Linked DNA regions of Homo sapiens: region 1 is linked to region 2. Evidence: promoter capture Hi-C in 16 types of primary human blood cells and fetal thymus (Javierre and others, 2016). All regions are on one chromosome and are shown on one strand. Each heading gives the region's core, a stretch centred on a gene start or on the middle of the fragment in contact. The rest is flanking DNA. Distances are from core to core; before and after follow the strand shown. Region 1 overlaps TWSG1 (twisted gastrulation BMP signaling modulator 1). Region 2 holds the start of ANKRD12 (ankyrin repeat domain 12).

Evidence for each region. Contacts are between HindIII fragments. The CHiCAGO score rates a contact against its expected background, and 5 or more counts as called.
Region 1: a contact is called between a fragment that was not itself captured here and the fragment with the promoter of ANKRD12 in region 2, in 1 of 17 cell types (megakaryocytes). The highest score is 5.6, in megakaryocytes.

The regions. Positions count from the first base shown.
Region 1 is chr18:9,398,745-9,404,822 of GRCh38, forward strand. It overlaps TWSG1 (twisted gastrulation BMP signaling modulator 1), which reads left to right. Exons shown (of 5, transcript NM_020648.6): 5 at 602-3,676. The coding sequence ends at 783. LOC105371980 (a long non-coding RNA gene) reads left to right here and starts at 5,649. Exons shown (of 3, transcript XR_001753550.2): 1 at 5,649-6,052. The HindIII fragment of the contact is 739 bases long and covers 3,530-4,268 here.
Region 2 is chr18:9,132,601-9,138,600 of GRCh38, forward strand. It overlaps ANKRD12 (ankyrin repeat domain 12), which reads left to right and starts at 4,181. Exons shown (of 13, transcript NM_015208.5): 1 at 4,181-4,365. NDUFV2-AS1 (NDUFV2 antisense RNA 1) reads right to left here and starts at 4,120. Exons shown (of 3, transcript NR_110772.1): 1 at 3,764-4,120; 2 at 791-910. NDUFV2 (NADH:ubiquinone oxidoreductase core subunit V2) reads left to right here. Exons shown (of 8, transcript NM_021074.5): 8 at 1,586-1,741. The coding sequence ends at 1,679. RefSeq lists silencers at 3,283-3,456, 3,459-3,548, 3,899-4,248, 4,459-4,858, 4,899-4,948 and enhancers at 3,739-3,788, 4,279-4,328. The HindIII fragment of the contact is 1,483 bases long and covers 3,799-5,281 here.

The sequences.
Region 1 (6,078 bases), core at 2,649-5,148, 270 kb after region 2:
TACCATGCCTGGCCTGCATTTGCAGTTCTGTTTGTTGTCTGTTTTTAACTTATGGATCTATCATTTTCTACTTAGTTCTGTGGATTCTCTGATTCCTCTACTAAAAATATAAAAATTAGCCAGCTGTGGTGGTGCATGCTTGTAATCCCAGCTACTCGGGAGACTGAGGCAGAGAATCACTTGAACCTGGGAGGCGGAGGCTGCAGTGAGCCAAGATCACACCACTGCACTCCAGCCTGGGTGGCAGAGTGAGACTCCATCTCAAAAAAAAAAAGGAAATGCCCAGTTTAAAAGCACAGCTGTATAACATAGCAAATGTTTTTAAGCCCAATAATCCAACTTTTCGATCAAAGCCTGAAATCTAATAAAAGAAGCTAAGGAAGCCCTTTGCCTTCTTCAGATGGAGTGGGAGAATCTGACTTCCTTCTCAACATAATTAATAAATGAAGATCTTTTTTCCTGTACCTCATCTTTGTCATGTACAGACCAGTAATAAGAGAACCAAGATAAATAACTGTTAATATTCAACTAGGTAATAAAGCATTTTATTTTTTTGTTTTTCTTCTTTCTTGCCCTGAAATCTTAAATTTTTGTTTTTCAGAACACATGTGTACTGTGGTTTATTTTGATGACTGCATGTCCATACATCAGTGTAAAATATCCTGTGAGTCCATGGGAGCATCCAAATATCGCTGGTTTCATAATGCCTGCTGCGAGTGCATTGGTCCAGAATGTATTGACTATGGTAGTAAAACTGTCAAATGTATGAACTGCATGTTTTAAAGAAGACAAATGCAAACCAAAGCAACTTAGTAAAATAATAGGTATAAAAAGTTATTCTGTAAGTCTGTTGGTTGTATCTTGTATCAGAATCCCAGTAAGTTAAGTTGTAAAGACTTTGGAATAAGTTTCTTTTAAAAATATGACATAGCCAGTGATGTGTTTAATTATATAACTGTTCTTACTGATTTTATTGCCCCCTAGCAATAAGCCCTTTCCTTTGAATACATGTACAACTTTGGTCATATGAGAAGCAGGTGCGCAGAGAATTCCTTGAAAGATCTGAGGTTTTTAACATGAAGTCTGACGTGGTTTTCCTCTAGCATTCCAAAAGGTTTTTGCTTTGAAAGTGTTAGCAGAAGCATGTTGATGTGAATTATGATTTCTTCATGTGCTACTGTTAGCACACTGAGTTTTTATAGTTGCACATCATTCCTCATTGTGCCTTGTTTTATCCATTTTATAAATAGAGTAGATATTTGATATACCACTCTGATAACTCATATAAAAATATCATCATAAAAAGCTTAATTTCATCCCTTTTATGTTGGTTTTAAAAGGTAAATGCTTACCATATTTTATAATTGAGAACTCTTACATAGTAGAATCCATTCTATAATACATGTGTTGACAAAGCTTTAGAGAAAGTTTCCTATTCTCTTCCATTTCCCCTGCCCAAAGTGCTGACATAGGCAGTGATGAAGAATCTTTACCAAGATTTTCAGGGTGTACCTATGAAATTGCTTTAAATGCACTGCTGGTGTAAATAATTAGCAAGCAAAGCGTTTCTGTGACTTCAGGTACCAGCTTAAAGAGCACTAGGGATGGGGAACGAATGCCAAATCAGACTCCACCTAGAGCACCAGGAAACAGCTTGTACCCTGGTAGGGAAATGGTGTTGCTGAAAGGGGAGGCTGAGCCAGTGCGAGACTGAACTTGTGCAGCCTTAGCCAAGACAAAGCAGTGTTTTTCAGCAGACGGCTGATGGGACAGGAATTGAAGAAGAGAATTGACTCGTATGAACAGGACAGGGTGAAAATGCTGGGAATTATTATGGGAAACAAAACTATCTATGTTCATATTTTGTAATATTTCATTTGTTAAGTTTATATCTGGATATAATGTTCTTTTTAAACAAGTATAATCATATCGTCGGAGGTTAAGATTATGAAATTTTAGAATCTCTATTCAAGATGATGTTCACTCCAAATACACTACAGAATTTAGTCAACATTTTATATAATGTTTCAATAAATGTTTCTTTCAATAAAGATACTATGTGCCCTTCATAGTAATAAAATCTCAATCTTAAAGCATGAATCTAAAACATAAATATTTATATTACAGACTCAATTTTACAAAATTACTAATTGCTCTAGTGCATATTTGAACTACAAGCAACTTTTTAGGAATACCTCTTTATACGTCTACATATTTTAGTATATAAAAATAGATAATGCTCTTGGACACATTTTGTATTATTCATGATCTGAATAGTAGTTAGTTAAAAGATCATTTGTAATATTATGATCAACTGTTATAAATTAAGGTCTTAATACCTTTTCTGCTCTTTCAAATAACTCTAATGAATATTCAAGATATTTTAGCCTTTTAAAAAGTTGAGATTTAGCTCATGGATATATTTTTTGGTAGGGAAACATTAGGGTCTCCTTTTCTTCCTTTTACCTAGAATGCCTCATTTAAAAGTGCCTTGAAAACATTTAGCTCCCCTTCTTCATGAGCATCTGTAGAGCTGAAAGTATTCTGGAACTTTAGACAGAAAGCTGAAAGGAATCTGCAGTCTCCTGCTGCAGTTCAACTCTGCTGTTTTTCAGTCATTTCCTACTGTGAGTGGAGTGATGTTTGTGTGTGTGTTGGCAACATGCCTAATGTTTTCTTAATGATGACAACAAATATTTTAAAACTGCATTTATCATTTTTTAGGTCTTCATTAAATTTTAAAATGTAATATCTGTTTCCCACCCCCTACATTAGGAGGATAATTTCTTAAACCACATTGTTTTAATTGATTTTTCTTATCTTGATTTCTTTCATTAGAAACTATCCCTAAATGTAAAGATCTTTTGCCTTCAAATTTGGCTTATTTTTTCTGATTTATGAGGGTTTGAAAGAAAGAATTCACCTAAAAGATTCCATTTCCAGTTTTATAATGTATTTCAGGTTCTGAATAACAATATTTTTCCAAATTGAAAGTAAATATTCCAGAAGTTGATAGCCTGGTTAAAAGTTAGATCCTCTATTACCATTCTAAGCACATTCACTTCTATATTGAAGTTTTGGTAAAAATTCTTTTTTCTTTTTTAATAAAAAATTAGGTTATTACTTTTTTTATAACCAGATTTTTAAAGCACTAGGTTTTAAATCAGTGGGTATCATAAAAGCCATATATAAAAGATCCTTTCTTATAGTAAGACTTGTGCTTGTTAGCAGGTTTTTCTGTTAGTTTTTCCCCCATAACATTTAATTATTACTAAAATTGTATTTACAATAGTGGTGCCAAATCAAATGGTAATTTAAATAAAATCTATTCTGTGTTTATGTAGGGTGGTATAAAAAAGAGGTCTTCATTTAGACATGTGATTTCTAAAATTCCAGAAAGCAAAATTGATAAGATGTTAGAAATTTGGACCATTATTTATAATCAGGGTAGCATTAAAATGGAGAAAAGAAAGTTTTCTGAAAAAATGCAGTAAATATAAGCCACATTTCTAAAGTTTATTTTTATGAAAGCTTCTTTTAAGATTTTGAAATCTATTCTGCATTCCCAAGAGTTTATGTTTATTGTATTTTATATGATCTACAACATATAAAATTGTGTATTTTTCTTTGGTTGTCCCTATTAACAAAAAAGTATTTTAATAAAAAATTGAAATGAGTGAGTCATATTTTTTGTTAACTTCAGCATAGACATAAATTTGACATTCTGTCTAAAGAAGATAGTGTTTAAGTGATCAGCGGGCCGGGTGCGGTGTCACTTTGGGAGGCTGAGGTGGGCAAATCACTTGATCTCAGGAGTTCAAGACCAGCCTGGGCAACATGGTGAAACCTCGTCTTTACAAAAATAAAAAAATTATCCGGGCATGTTGATGAGAGGTGAAGCCACCTGGACTTCTTGTTTCGAGTGGGGACTTGGAGAACTTTTCTGTCTTACAAGAGGATTGTAAAATGCACCAATCAGTGCTCTGAAGCTAGCAAGAGCATTGTAAAATGCACCAATCAGTGCTCTGTAAAACACACCAATCAGCGCTCTGTAGCTAGCAAGAGGGTTGTAAAATGCACCAATCAGTGCTCTGTAAAACACACCAATCAGCAGGATCCTAAAAGTAGCCAATCGCAGAGAGGATTGAAAAAAGGGCACTCTGATAGGACAGAAACAGAACATGGTGGGGAGGGGCCAATAAGGGAATAAAAGCTAGCCACCCCAGCCAACAGCGGCAACCAGCTCGGGTCCCCTTCCACCCTGTGGAAGCTTTGTCCTTTTGCTCTTCACCATAAACCCTGCTATTGCTCTCTCTTTGGGTCCGTGCCATCTTTAAGAGTTGTAACACTCACTGAGAAGGTCTGCGGCTCCATTCTTGAAGTCAGCAAGACCACGAACCCACCAGCAGGAGCCAACTCCAGACACAGTAATTATGTGCCTGTAGTCCCACCTACTCTAGAGGCTGAGGTGGGAGGATCACTTGAGCCCAGGGAGGCGGAAGCTGCAGTGAGCCCTGATTGTGCCACTGCACCTCTGCCTGGGTGACAGAGCAAGACCCTGTCTTAAAAAACAAACAAACAAAAAAAACAATCAGCAAAGAATGTTCTTTTCTCAGGATGTCTCTACAGATTCTCTCAGAACAGATCTTAGAACATTTTGCTGTCTGCTTTTTCATATGCTTTATTCCAATATGGGGGAACCTTTTAAATGAATACTTTACTATTCTGCTTGCTCTGTGGGCCTTCAGATGCCAACCAACTTTATAAGAATGATCTAAAGGTTGCAAGGAGTTGCAGAAGGATCAAGGTAGGGAAAAACCTTTCTCAGCTCTCCCACAGGATACTGTTAGAATTGAGAGCCACAAACTGTGCTGCCATGGCAAAATCCACCTTATTTCAGAGTCCATGTTTTGGCAGCCTCGTGCCTGGGGGATCTAGAGAGGGGAAGAACTCAAGAGGACAGCCTGAGTGACTTAAGAAAGGAGCTGGGGCATTCGGAAGGTAGGATGAGTTTCAAGGACAGATACAACGTTTGACCAGGAAAGCTGTGCTTTTGCTGAAGGTGTCCACACAGCAGCTAGTCATGTGGACAGTCAGAGAGAGTGAAGCTGAGCTGGAAGGGGAGGCATCCAAGCCCAAGGCTCCAGGAGACATTGCAGACAACATGGCGCATCCGGCCCCATGGGGCTGCTCCAGACCTGGCAGGCACTGAGCTCAGTAAGCCAGGCAGACATGCCATTAGCGCCATTAGCTGGTGGGTGTTAGCCATTACAGCTCTTTGACCTTTGAGCTTTAACTAACCAGTAAAAAGTAAATGTGGGCCAGGCGCAGTGGCTCACGCCTGTAATCCCAACACTTTGGGAGGCGGAGGCGGGCAGATCACCTGAGGTTAGGAGTTCGAGACCAGCCTGGCCAACGTGGTGAAACCCCGTCTCTACTAAAAAATACAAAAATTAGCCAGGTGTGGTGGCACGTGCCTGTAATCCCAGCTACTCAGGAGGCTGAGGCAGGAGACTCGCTTGAAGCCGGGAAGCGGAGGTTGCAGTGAGCCGAGAATGCGCCGCTGCCCTCCAGCCTGGGCCACAAGAGTGAAACTCCGTCTCAATTAAAAAAAAAAAAAAAAAGTATGTTCTACCTCCTTTTATTTTAAAGTCTGCTTGAAGTGTGGAGTCAGCAACAACTCCAAGGTTTGGCTTTTGAGATGAGAATTCTCCGTGCAGATGCAAAGAGGAAAAGAATTCTGCCCCCTCCCAGTAATGCTGGGAAACCTGGAGTCCGCGCTGTGACTCACCGAATGACGCCTGGAGAGTGCAGGCGCCCCGCCAGTCAGGGAGACAGGACTTCCCTCACTGGGCTGAAGATAGCCCCTGAAGTTAGGCACAGTCACCGGCGAAATATCTTTATGGCAGAAATGTGTTTCCTGCCCGTCTAACTTAGGTACTTCCCTCTGCAGCCAGCGTAATCTTTCTAGAACACGTGTACCGGTAATTACTGCTTCCACCCCCAGTTCTAGGCAAAGAGCAAGGCCGTTGCGCTCGTCTGCCTCGGAAAGGTATGAGTTACCCACTAGGAAGTCGA
Region 2 (6,000 bases), core at 2,931-5,430:
GCACAGTGGCTCACCTGTAATCCCAGCACTTTGGGAGGTTGAGGCGGACAGATTGTTTGAGCCCACAAATTCAAGACCAGCCAGGGCAACATGGTGAGGTCTTGTCTCTACGAAAAATACAAAAATTAGCCAGGCATGGTGACGCACACCTGTAGTCCCAGCTACGTGGGAGGCTGAGGTGACAGAAGCACCTGAGCCTGGGAGGTTAAGACTGCAGTGAGCCATTATTGCATCACTGCATCCCAGCCTGGGTGACAAAGTGGGACCCTGTCTCAAAAATAATAAATAAATTTAAAAATTGCAAAATATAATACTGTTGTCTTTTTTTTAAAGTTAAGTATCATTTTGCTGCTTACTCTACAAGTTTCAGGCTCTTACAGTATACAATGACTGCTTTTTTATCTGTTTTTGTAGTGAACAAGACCTATAATCCAAAGATATTAACTAAGTTCTGACTTTGTAGATAATTGTTCATTACTTAGTAACTTGTATTATATGCTGTGACATCTTGAAAGATCTTATATTATGTGGTGTCACTTTCCTGGCTCCAATAAAAAATGATTCCCTAGGGCTCTAAAGAACAGACTTAAAGGATTGATGACACAATGTGAAGGGCAAAGCCAGAGGGGGTTGAAAAGATATAAACTGAACAAGTTCTTTCTTTAGGTAAATCTGTGGCAGGAACAGGTAAATTAGCAAAGCCAGGGAATAGTGGTGGAGGGGTGACATACAGTAAGTCTGAGCTGGGCTCTAGAAACAGAGGTCAGACAGGGCAGAGGTGAGCAATTACCTGGGAAAGCGTGTGTGGGGTTGACAGACAGGTTCTTCTCCCTCTATGCTGCCTGTCTTCATAAATTGCTCCATCAGGACTTGTTCTTGTTTGCTTCCTTTTGTGGCTGCTATGGCCATCCTGGTTTGGAAACTTTTTTCAGAAAATTACTACTACTAATATAGTCTTTATAATACATAAATACAAACTGATTTTGACTTCGCTGCTTCTAAGGGACATTGTCCCAAATCATATTTCCTCAAGGAATCCAGTTTCTATTTCCAAATACAATGTATAAGTGTGTGTATTCCCTCTATTCACTGTGACTGTGGATCTTGATCTAAATAAAATTCAACTCTAAAAAGAAATACAGTGCTCTAGTTTATTAAAACATGGTTTTTAAAAATGTTCTCTGGGGTTGGGTATTTTTGCCGTAGTTCTTTGCTTTGATTCTTGGGTAGATGCTGAATCTCCCAAATTTGGTTTCTCTAACTGTAAAATAAAGCCAGTATCACTTGTCTTGTGGCATCGTAAGGATTCAATGAGCTAGTGTATGCATACTGCTCAGTAAATAGGAACTATTATTAGGGCTACTTTTGTATTTTTTATGTTTATGGTGAAGTCTGATGTTTTTCCATATTTAAATTTAGGAAGAGAAAATCTTGCATCAGTTGAAATGTTTGAATTAAATAATCTATGCTAGTTCTTAGGGTAAAAATAGTTACTTAACTGGGCTCTTGTGAGGTAACCATTACAATTTAAGTAAAAATTTACAAATGTTAATCATTAATAGTTTAATATTACTTTTCATTTCAGGAGTGGACGCTTCTCTTGTGAGCCAGCTGGAGGTCTTACCTCTTTGACTGAACCACCCAAGGGACCTGGATTTGGTGTACAAGCAGGCCTTTAATTTATATTGAACTGTAAATATGTCACTAGAGAAATAAAATATGGACTTCCAATCTACGTAAACTTATTTGTTTATTCTGCTCTGTGTACATCCTCATGCTAACCGTAGCAACTTGCAGCTCTAAGTATTATGTCATAATGACAGAGGACCATTTTAAAGTCTTCTATCTATGGCTGTGAAGACATCATTATATAATCTAGTTAACAGTTACTCTAGTGTCACCCATTTTCAATTTCCAGATCGCTTTTATCAAGATCAGGTTACTGTGAAGTAAAAATTTGGTTAAATTACAAATGTTTTGCTTTCCCATCTTTAGCCACAGCCAAGTTTTAAGTTAACATGATCTTTCTATAAACTTTGTCAGTGCTCCCTTTAAACATTATTTAAAACACATAATTGTTACTGTATTTCCAACTGGTAAGACCTCAAGCACACTGTAGGTTTAAGGAGGATATGGTAGTTGTCTCTAGAAGCCTTTTTTTTTTTTTTTTTTTTTTTGAGACGGAGTCTCGCTGTCTCCCAAGCTGGAGTGCAGTGGTGGGATCTCGGCTCACTGCAAGCATTACAGGCGTGAGCCACCACGCCCGGCTTAAGCATTACCATTTTTAAAAAAGAAAGGTCCAAAACACTTGACATTATCCTTAGCTATTCTGACACTGCAAGTATACAAAAAATAATTGGGTGAAGGGATTGGAAGTATGATTATGTACTCTGCAGTGGTATGGATATTACAACTTAGAAAAAAGGATAAACCCTTTTGTGTATTTAAGAAATTAGCTGTAGTACATTAGTTTTGCATTAGCCAGCTTTAATGCATGAATAATTTATATTAATCTAATCCTCGATTTCTCAAAGTCACCTGTACTTGAAACAGACTATTCACTAGTAATTATGCTTTTTTTTTTTGAGACAGGCTGTGTCCCCAGGCTGGAGTGCAGTGGTGTGATCTTGGTTCACTGCAATACCCTGGCCTCAGCCTCCTGAGCAGCTGGGAGCACAGGCAGGCGCCACCAGCCTGGTTAATTTTCATATATTTTTTTAGAGACAGGGTCTTACTATGTTGCCTGGCTGGTCTCAAACTCCTGGGCTCAAGCCATCTGCCCGCCTGAGCCTCCCAAATTGCTGGGATTACAGGCGTGAGCCACTGCGCTCGGCTATAACGATTATTTTTAAGTATGTCTTTAAGATTTTTTTTTTAATTGAGAGAAGGTAAACAACAGTTAATTTTCCAAGTGGCACAAAAAAGTAACAATGAAAATGTCCTACCCTGGAGCTCTCCTGACTTTCTCATAGGCGACTGTTTTTTTCTTTGTATTTCACATCATAAATAACCAAGTTAAATGTAACACTATTCCACCTCTAGCCATAAGGTGCTCTTTTTCTAGTCTTGTTGACCCTAAAGATTTGTAGGTGGGAGAAATCAGGAACCCAGGAAAGGAAAAACTCCTGATCTTTAATGCAGGTTTATGCTTTACATAGTAATTTGATGGGACCTCGCCGTCCCTGTCAGGTCTGAATGTCACTTCATCTGCTGTGATCACACCTGAACCCTCAGTTCATCAAGACGTTAAAGGACAGTGTAACATAAACTTGTAACTGCATGCACTAAGTCATAAACAGACGCTGTTGTTGCAGATTAACCTCTACGTAAATAACGCGCCCAGAAGGGAGTGAGTACACGCTGCTGCCACGCTGCGACGGTCAATTTTCCTCCGGCACCCTTCCTAGTACCTGAGCAGCTCCCTCTCAAATCCCCAACACTACGTGTGGGAGGGTGCACTGAATTCCTCTTTAAAAAGGCCACTGGAAGGCGTGGCTGGGAGGGGACGCGCTCTAGACCCCCTGGTGCCAGGGCAGGTGCACGCTACCGCGCTTTCGGGGCGGGGCCCAGGGCCCCACCTGAGGCGGGGGGCCGCGGGCTCTGGGCGTAGGTGCAGCTTCTCCGGCCTGGTGCGGGGCCAGACGGCCGCCGCCGGCTTAGCGGGGGAACTTCGCCTAGTCCTCGGGCTGCGGTCGCAGCGTCATTTTGCCTGAGTTGGATCACGCTCGTCCACCCACCCCGTGTAAAAATAACAGGTGAATACCCTATGTGGGGGTCCTCATCGCCGCCATTTCCAGAAGCTTCCAGTCACAGCCACTGCCACGGTCGCCACAAATGCTACTGCAGAGCCCGCTTGCCCAGCAGCGTCACCGGCGCCTGCCCTGCCTCTTCGCCCAGCCTTTGATTCCCCCTCCTTTGTCGGATAGTGTCTGCGGCGGGGAGGCGGTGACACTAGTCCGAGTGGGGCGTGGAGACCGACCAGCACGAAGGGCGGAGTTCCGGCCCGCACCCCTCCGCCGCCTGCCGCTTGGTACGTCCCGCTTCCCCGCCCTGCGGCTCGCGGAGCCTGGCTGAGCAGCAGGAGGGGCGGGCGCCGGGGGGCGGGGCGGTCACGCCGCCCGTCCCGTGCCCGCGGTAGTCACGTGTCCGCGGGTGTCACGTGCTCGCGTCGCAGCCAATCGCGGGGCGACGCTGTCCTGGGAGCGAGGAGGCTGTGGTGAGAGACGGACCGAGACCGGAGATGTTTTCAAGCCCGGCTCCGGCGGCTTTACAGGCGGCTGCAGCGGCGACGAAGACAACGACAGCGACGGCTACGCCGAAGCACTCGTTCCGGGGGTGAAGCCTCCTGCGCCGGCCTTGCCTCGGGTCCGTACGGGTGAGGGGGGCGTGGCGACAGGAAAGGAGGAAGGAGGGGCGCGGTTTCGAGCTTGTCCCCGGCGCCAGGGAGGAGATCCCCTCAGTTCTGCGCTGCTCCCGTTCCCCCTCCCCAGAGCAAGGTAGGGGACGCGCCCTGCCCGCCCCCCCCGGTCCCGACGCGCCGCCCGCCCAGCCTGGCCCGAGCCGTAGCTCGCCTGACAGTGACAGGCCGTTAGTGCCCCCCGGCGCGGGTCCGCCGGGGCCCCGCCCGCCGCCGCCCCTCCCGGCGTCGCGAGGAGCCGCGGCGCAGGTGGGAGCCGCCAACTGGGCGGGGGCGCTGCGCGGGGCGGGGCGGGGGCCGGGCGGAGGGCCGCGAGCTGGCCTCGTCGCGGGCGCCCCTCACCGCGGCTGGCGGGGCTGGGCTGCCGCCGCCTCCCGGAACATGGCGGGGCCGGAGGAGCGTGTGCGTGCGAGTGTGAGTGTGCGCGGCCGAGAGGGCGCCGCTGGCGTGCGGCGGTCGGACCCGCGGGGGCGGGGGCGCGCCCGGCCCGCCGCGCGTTCCCGCCGCCAGCCGCCGAGCGTGCGCCGACGCCGGGGAGTCTGCCGCGGCCGCTCGGGCCGGGAGCGTCGGAGGTACCCGGGTCCTGGGAGAGGTGGATGAAATCAAGAAGGGGAAATTGCTGCTTTAGTAGTGTCCGGGGAAAGAGCAGCCACTCTACAGTTCTGTCTTAAATGCCAGTGTAAAATAACCTTGCCGCATTGGACAGGCAGTTCCCGTCATCGTTTTTCAAGTACCCACTTGTGATGCTTCAAGACCCCTGGAGCACGTCAGGTTCTTAGATCTCGTTTTGAGGAGTGATGTGGAGTGACGCATCCTTACAGATCCCAAAGCGTTGAATAAACGGTTGTACAAAGAGGTATGCGAAGCTTAGCTGACAGCTGTTTTAGTAATAACAGTAAGACGCTGTCTGGGATAGGAAGTTACTGTTGCACTCGTTGAAACCTTAGGAAACATTTAAAGCAGTGTAGTCACCGGGATTGTAATTTCCACTGGACACCCGTGGTTAAACTGCGAACTAAGGTGAAGTGTGTTGCAGATCCAGTGCTGTGTATGTAATGGTTCGGAATTACCTCTAATCCTAAAGTTGAAATGAGCCTGCATCTGCAGTCATGTATTTCGTTTTCATTTTAGAATGGTTTATGTAAATTATAAAGAAAGGCTAGTGAAATAGCTATTTTATCGTAAATTAACTGTGTATTAAAAACATATGCACAGCCGGGCGCGGTGGCTCATGCCTATAATCCCAGCACTTTGGGAGGCCGACGTGGGTAGATCACCTGAGGTCAGGAGTTCGAGACCAGCCTGACCAATATAGTGAAACCCCCGTCTCTACTAAATATACAAAATTAGCCAGGCGTGGTGGCGCATGTCTGTAATCCCAGCTACTTGGGAAGCCGAGGCAGGGGAATCGCTTGAACCCGGGCGGCAGAGGTTGCAGTGAGCCGAGATCGTGCCACTGCACTCCAGCCTGGGCCACAAGAGCGAAACTCCGTCGCAAAAACATACCAAAACAAACAAACAAACAAACAAAAAAACATATGCTCAAGTAGGCCGTTAAAAATCTTGGGCACTGATCTGAGTTT